2 separate regions of the Homo sapiens genome follow, and region 2 is linked to region 1. Evidence: promoter capture Hi-C in 16 types of primary human blood cells and fetal thymus (Javierre and others, 2016). All regions are on one chromosome and are shown on one strand. The core of a region is centred on a gene start or on the middle of the fragment in contact, and the rest is flanking DNA. Distances in the headings are between cores, read along the strand shown.

What was found. Contacts are between HindIII fragments. The CHiCAGO score rates a contact against its expected background, and 5 or more counts as called.
Region 2: a contact is called between a fragment that was not itself captured here and the fragment with the promoter of CSTF2T in region 1, in 1 of 17 cell types (megakaryocytes). The highest score is 7.0, in megakaryocytes.

The regions. Positions count from the first base shown.
Region 1 is chr10:51,698,272-51,701,987 of GRCh38, forward strand. CSTF2T (cleavage stimulation factor subunit 2 tau variant) reads right to left here and starts at 1,324. Exons shown (of 1, transcript NM_015235.3): 1 at 1-1,324. The coding sequence starts at 1,278. The region is part of intron 3 of PRKG1 (protein kinase cGMP-dependent 1); the gene reads left to right. RefSeq lists enhancers at 1,012-1,591, 1,716-2,404 and a silencer at 2,158-2,452. The HindIII fragment of the contact is 5,025 bases long and covers 1-2,336 here.
Region 2 is chr10:51,007,810-51,011,514 of GRCh38, forward strand. It overlaps a transcript of PRKG1 not described here. Among named protein-coding and RNA genes, the nearest start is that of PRKG1, 65 kb to the right of the region's middle. The HindIII fragment of the contact is 249 bases long and covers 1,484-1,732 here.

The DNA of each region.
Region 1 (3,716 bases), core at 74-2,573:
CTCAGTTTCCATGGCACGAGTCTCCATCGCTCGAGAATCTCTACCACCTCTACCATCCATAGGTAGACCCCTTTGATCTATCATGGGGCCTCTGGGCTCTCCAATTAGCAGTCTGGGATCTCCTAATGGCCCTCCCCTCATCTCATGTGAGGAAGGGCCACGAGTGTCATGACCAGAGGCATGATGCATGGGGGGACCCTGATGGGGTGGACCCAGATAACCTCTGGGCTCCACTTCTCCAGTGACTGAAAGCAAAGTCCCTCCACGTGGGTCATTTGGAGCATCTCCTAACAGTCCTCGAGGAGGCAGACCACCAGGAGTCACGGGTCCGCGAGGTATAGGAGCTCTAGGATCTGACATCTGCACTTGTCCCCGCTCTAAAGGCACTGGGCCAACCCCTGGCATTCCAAGTTGGGGCTGCATTGCTCCTCCAGGAGTTAAGGAACCAGGACCAGCTCCGGGAACTGCAGCTGGTATTGGCCCTGGAGCTGGAATTCCACCCTGGATAGGAGTCTGCATCAGAGGAGGAATGTCCTTCACAGGTCTTCTAGCCAAATGCTGAGGCTGAGGAGCTGGAGGATTCTGCTGGTTCAGCAGAACATTAGGTCCTGGGCAGAGCCCAGGGCCAGGGCCAGGGCCAGGGCCAGAGACAGACACAGACTGAGATTTGCCTGGGATCAGTGGTGTGACATGTATCTTCCGATGCAGAATTTTCAGAGCAATCTCTGGATCCATGATTCTCATCACTACTTGTGCCTGCAACAGTGCATAAGCCAGTTGTGGATTTTGAAGTAACATGTTTCGAGCTTCCTGGTGGCTGTTTTGGACACAGAGCTTCATCTGCTTCATCAGCTCAAACATCTGCTCCGGGGGGAGACTGGCTACTGCTCTGGTAATCGATTCAGGGGCATCTTCTGGATCGATGGGATCCCCATAGGGTGAGTCAATAATGGGCGCTGCAGGCCCAAGGCTCTTTAACTCCTCCTTATTCTTTTCACTGGCAGCATTGTCCACCCGAAGCGCTCTCCCACTGAACTCCCGCCCATTGAGGTTCCGCATGGCACTAAGCGCGGTCTCCTGGTCTTGGTATTCGCAGAAGCCATAGCCCTTGGGTTTTCCCGTCTCTCTATCGTATACCAGCCGGAAACTGACAACAGAACCAACCTCCGAGAAAATGTCCTTTAACTGCTCCTCAGTTGCCTCATATGGAATGTTCCCCACGAACACGGAACGCAGTGATCGATCCATTGCCGGGTCTCTCACCGCCAAACTCGACATGATTCCGGTTGTGCAGACAGCCGATAGCGGATTCTTCGAGGCGTCTGTCCTCTTGCGACCGACACTTCCGCTGAGCAACGGAAGCGGCTTTCAAGATCCGGGCAGAAACTTTACTAATTCGCTTGAATCGTTCCGCTTGCCTGTGGAACCTGCATCCCACTAACAACTTATCTAATGCTTTCAGTCCCTGATCCTTCATGGTTCTGTCAGCTTCTTATTACAGAGTCGCATGATTCCTTTCCCATTTCACGTTCCGCTGACTTTCTGTGGGGCCCCAACAGCCCCACTACGACACGCTTGGTACGAGATGACCACAGTAAAGATGGCCGCATAGACTTCACCGTAGTAACTGGGAGGGGACTCTTCCCTTGACGTCAAAGGCGGTTTTGCTTCCGTTCCGCTGGCGGGAAACCGCCAACCGAAAGCGGATTTAAGGCGGCGTGTTTTTCGTTCTGACAAAGTATTTTCATGTGGCCTTTTATTATAGTATAGTTAAGCTAGATTTAAAATCACATTCCAGACTGAGGGAAAAGCGTAGTCGTTTCAGCACATTTGAGATTTGCCCCTTAAACTAAAACAGTATTATATCTCCTTTTTAGAACAACGTTTTTGGAAATTAACTGACAAGAAATATAAACTGAAGCGTGTGCCGGCTGGGCCCTGCCCCCATTCTGTTGCTTCCTATAACCGCTGTTAATGGATGGGTGGCAGACCCTTCTAGGTTTTTCCTGAGCACACGGGCAGCCGTCGTGCTATTCCTAATATTACGGTTTTCTTCCTTAATAACAACCGATTTCAATATTAATTGGTGATTAAATAAATTAGTGATTAATTAGTTATTAGTATTTTATGGCTTCAGAGTATGGAATAAAGAAATTTACTTAACTATCCCTACGTTGATTGGTTCTGATTTTTATTATATCATGCAGTGAGTCCACCACTTCCATGAAGGGAGAAACAAATAGCGGGTGTTTGTCTTCTGCTGTTAGCTTTGCAGGTAGGAGTTAAAACATATTCAGTGTGGTGTTTCCCCGCCTGCAATTCGAAGCTAGAACTGAAGCTTGGAGAGGGCTAGGTAAATTCCCAAGGACAAGCAGCTGGAAAGAGGCCAAGTCAGGATTCTAACCCAGCTTGGTCTCGCATAGCTCCAATTCTACACTGCCTTACGTGTATTGAATATATGAAATGAAGCTAGTGTGATTGAAGAAATGAATTTTAAATCTCATTTTTTATTTAAATATAAAAACTAATGTTCAGTAAGCTATTGGAAAACTTTTTTAGTATTTAGAACAACTTGGATATAGAATCTACTTTTGCAATAATAAATTGTGTTCTAAATAAAAATCATTTTGAAGAACACTAAGACAAAAAATAAAAACAAATAAAAAGAAAGTATTTCCAGTCAAAATTTAACATACTGGTTGAGGTGTGCCATACATGTAACATACATGAAAGATTTTAATGATCAAATACAAAAAAAGTAAAAATAGCCCATCAATTTTATATTTTTTATAAGTCGAAATGTAATATTTTTATATATTTGAGTAAAAAATTATTTTGAAGTTAATGTTATTCATTTCATTTTACTTTTTTAAATGTGGCTATTAGAAAATTTAAAATTATATGGATAGATTGCATTATACTTCTGTGGACTGGACTGCTCCAAGCCTGTGCTTTAATTCCAAAACAGAGAATTATTTTATTCTGAAATATGCCTCTTAAGTGGATTATGAAACTTTTAAATTTCAGCAAAAAAATTGTATTATGTATCTTCAGTATCCTATTCCAATGAATAGATTTGACATGAGTATGATGGTTTAGCTGCAAATAAGACATCCATTTACCTTCAAGTTTTTGAAACAGTTCTGCACTTAGCTGTTCACCCAAGATGCGCGACAGTTTATATTTGCAAGTGACAAGGTTCATTTACATCACCTAATAAGATTTTCCTGCTATGTCAAAGAAACGGAATAGTCACCTGCTAGCAATGTTTCCCCAGTGTGATTCTTTTATTGGGGACGAAAGGGGAGGGGTTAAGGATAGTATCATTTAAAAAAACTAAAGACAAATCTATTTTTCTTCCTTCTATACCATCACTTTACAAAGAGAAGGCATACCTTTTTTATACACATTCTGTCAAGGGTAACTTACAAGTTGAATATGTGTGTAATTGTGTGTGTATTAAATGTAGTAATCATGAAGATGGTAATGGGGTATTATAATATGTTGCAAAATTCGTAGAAGATTGCACATCTTGACAGAGTTTCTTTACTGCTGATACTGTCTAAACCAGTGGTCTTCACATGTAGCAGAACCACCTTGAGCCATGGCTTGTTAAGTCAGATTCTGCTTTATCAGGTCTGGAGAATTTGCATTTCTAATAAGCTCTCAGGTGATGCTGATGCTGCTGGTTTGGAGATCTTTAAGAATCATTGGTC
Region 2 (3,705 bases), core at 358-2,857, 690 kb before region 1:
TATAATGGGAAAGTAGGAAATACTAATTCAGCATTGTTAAGAGCTTACTTTGTGCAAGGTACTTTATTGGCATGAATTAATTTGCTCTTCTCAACAATCCCATGGTGGTTTCATGGTGCCTCCAGGCAGGAATTGTTCCATGTGCTCTGTACAGAGGAGGAGACTCAGTGCAAACACATCAAGTGACTCATCCCAAGGCTTGCTGGTCCAAGACGTCTGGCTCTAGGGCTCTGACACTATACTACATGATAATCAACAGCAGGAACATAGGGGAAAATTGGAGGAAATTGGGCTTTGTGAAGACCTTCAGATCATTCATATGCCCAGTTCTTCTCAAACTGTAGTACGTATAAACATCTCTTGGGTTCCATTTGTTGCAGTGAAGACTCCTAGGCCCATCTCCAAAGATTCTGGCTTAATAGGTAGGCTTGGGGAATTTGGGACCAGGAAATTTGCTATAACTCCTTGAGAAGTAGCTTTCTAGGTATATACTGCAAGAAGGGTGACTATATGCATTCATTTCTTAGTTCTGCTGGAACACATCGCCACAAACTGGGTGGCTTCAAGCAACAGAAATTTATTTACTCCCAGCTCTGTAGACTAGAAGTTCGAATTCAAGGTGTCAGCAGAGCCATGCTCTTTCTGAAAACCCTAGGAGAGGAGCTTCCCTTGCCTCTTTCTAGCTTCTGGTGGTTGCTGGCAACCTTAACCATTCCATGACTTGGACTTGCATTCCAATCTTTGCCTTCATTTTCACATGGTTGTCTTTTCTCTGTGAGTATGTGTGTCTAAATTCCCCTCTTGTAAGATTACTAGTCATTCAATTTGGGGCCCACCCTAATCCAATATGATGTCGTCTTGATTACATCTATAAAGATGCTGTGTTCAAATAAGGTCACAGTTGTACCATACACCTGTATTTATCTTCCTTCAAGCCCAAGATATGGAGCTGTGACTTCTGAAGTCTGCTGAGCCCATGGAAAAAAAAGATTTTGGATGAGATGAAGAGAGTAAAGGACACATTTAGGTATTTATGATACAAGGTTTTGTGGAGGCTTTTTCACCTGCCATTTCCATCTGCCCTCCCTCCTTCTCCCATTTTCTTATTTTTCAAAGGATATGGTGTTGATTGATTGTCCTTTGGTTCAGATGAAAGTATTAGTCTCTGGTGGCTCCATGAAATGTCACACATCTCTGATGGTTTGTGGTTCTCTTGTTTTCATGGTATGAGTTTTATAAGGATTTATAGGGAAACAAAATTGGGCTTAAAATGTGAGACAACTTCTGTAGACTGTAGTTTTCTTACCTGTAATTTTAGAAGGAAAAAAAACCCTTCTATGCTATAATTTCAATGCCTTAATTCCCTATAATTTTGGTAACTTGTTTCTTTAGGGTTACAAAGAACAAATGGAATAAACCACAAATAGATATATTAGGATAAAGATAGATTTTCTTTGGTGTATTTATCTAACTAATTTAGAAAAGCTTTAAATGCCAATTAAATTATACATTTTGAAACACAGTTATATTTAGGGATAAACTATTTTTAAGTTAACATTATTCTCTGCATTTAAAAGTAGAATTTAAATAGTTCTCCCACCTCCACCTCAATCTAAGGTGCACACACATACTTTTAGCTTTACTAGAGGGTTTTTGTTAATGTAGTCTATAACAGAAATTGAGGATTTCTGTTATGGTATTTCTATTTTACTATCATACCACTGAAAAGTTAAGCTTTCTCTTAAGAATATAAGAAAAATTTAAGAGACAGCATGAGCTAGTTGAATAGTCTTATTAGTGAATTAGTTTTATATAAAATAAATTATACAATGGACATTCCAGTTATCATCTGAAAATATAATTTAGAAATTTATGATAATATATTTCTTTCTGGGTCTATTTAATTCAGAAACATTCTCATACAAGGTGGTTCAAAGAATCCAGATTTCTGGGAATGGTTTTGGACTTCTTGAAGATATAAAATATTTGACAATGCATTGTTCAATATGGAATCGTACTTTTGGAAAGAAAATCTGCCAGAACATTCATGCTACCCAGAGAGAAGTATCATTCTCCATTCTCCTCAAAATTGTATCTTCTTTGCTTTGATTCTCATACGCCTGCTATCAGAGATTTTGGAAAGTTTCTCTTCTCTTTATTGTAAAAGATCTCAGGTATAATTCAAATGGTTATTTCATTTTATAGAAACTTTACTGGAAATGTCCAAGTGCCTTCAGCAGTGGAAGGAGGGGTCAGGAGAGGGTGGCTCCACTGGGAAGCATGATTGGCCTCTGATTTGTGGGAATTTTCCAGGGCCATTGTTTGTGCGAAGTTGTGTTAAGAATGTAGGTTGAAAGGTAGATGTGGAATTCCATGGAGCACGTGCAGAAAAGCGAATTCTACTACCCAGCGTAAATCATTCGCTCTACATTAAGCATCTTTGCCAATTATTTGGGTGAGGCCATTAATGGCATCTCACTCAGATTTGCACAGGGCAAGATGCTGTGAGGATTGCTTATTATGTTGGAAAACAGAATCAAGATCCCAAAAGATTATGATGGGCAAGAGTAGTGATTTATAACCCTATTTCAGACAATGCTTTCCTTTTCATACCAGATATTTCCTAATGCTCCCTCACTATGCTGAAATTAAATTCATCAATAATATAACCCATCTGCACACATAATTGTGTGTATCTATGCATATATATATATGTGGTATCCTAACTATAATATAAACAAAAGATAGGGGAACATGTATCATGAAATAATACTTGCTTTAGTAAGTGCTTGAACTGTCCAAGTTGGAGATGATTGCTGGAAAAGGGCTACACAGTAAGTTGAACTGAAGATGTGAAGTGCTTGTTCCTAATCCTGAAATCATTTGATGTAACAACTGAAAACAAATACTAGTACTGATGTGTTTTACAGGTTACTCTGGTGCCACTGGTGGTGTTTGTATCAAGTGACTCAGTTTTCCAAAGTGATGAACATCTCTCTGTAAAGTTTTTAACAAAATAAAGTACTCTCTTTCCTTAATTTACATTTTTGTTGAATTTACAGCAAACTTAATTTATAGCCACGCAAAAATAAATACTTGGTTTACATGTAAGACAGACTTTGATTCTAGGCTTAGATAATATGTACAGATTTTTCTCCTGCCTGAATGGCTGGTGAGAGATTTGAAGGCACAGGGGTTGAAGGATAATTATTCAAATTGTGGGATTCTCCAGTGGATCCTAGCACATCATAACTAAAAAGCACCAATAAATTTCCTAAGTTACCACAAGGGGGCAGTAACGCCCCCACTGAGAATCACTGGGCAAATGGTGTTTCTTAGCCTTGCAACTATGGATATTTTGAATTTTGGATCAGAGAATTATTTGTTGTGTGTGTGTGTGGGTGGGGAGGGGGCGGTGTTGAGGGGAGAGAGTGCTGTCCTGTGTATTTTAGAATGTTTAGCAGCATCTTGGACTCTACCCACCAGTAACACCAGTAATACTCTACCCACCAGTAACAGCCCTCCTGACCACCAGTTAGGGCAACCAGAATGTCTCCAGACACCACCTCTTGTTCCATGGTGGGTAAATTCACCCGCAACTGAAATCACCAAACAAAATAAAAAAAATGTTTAACGAAGAATTAATGGAAAAATTTTCCCTAGAAACCTTGAAACTTCATACTTAGAAGTAACCTCATAGAAGCA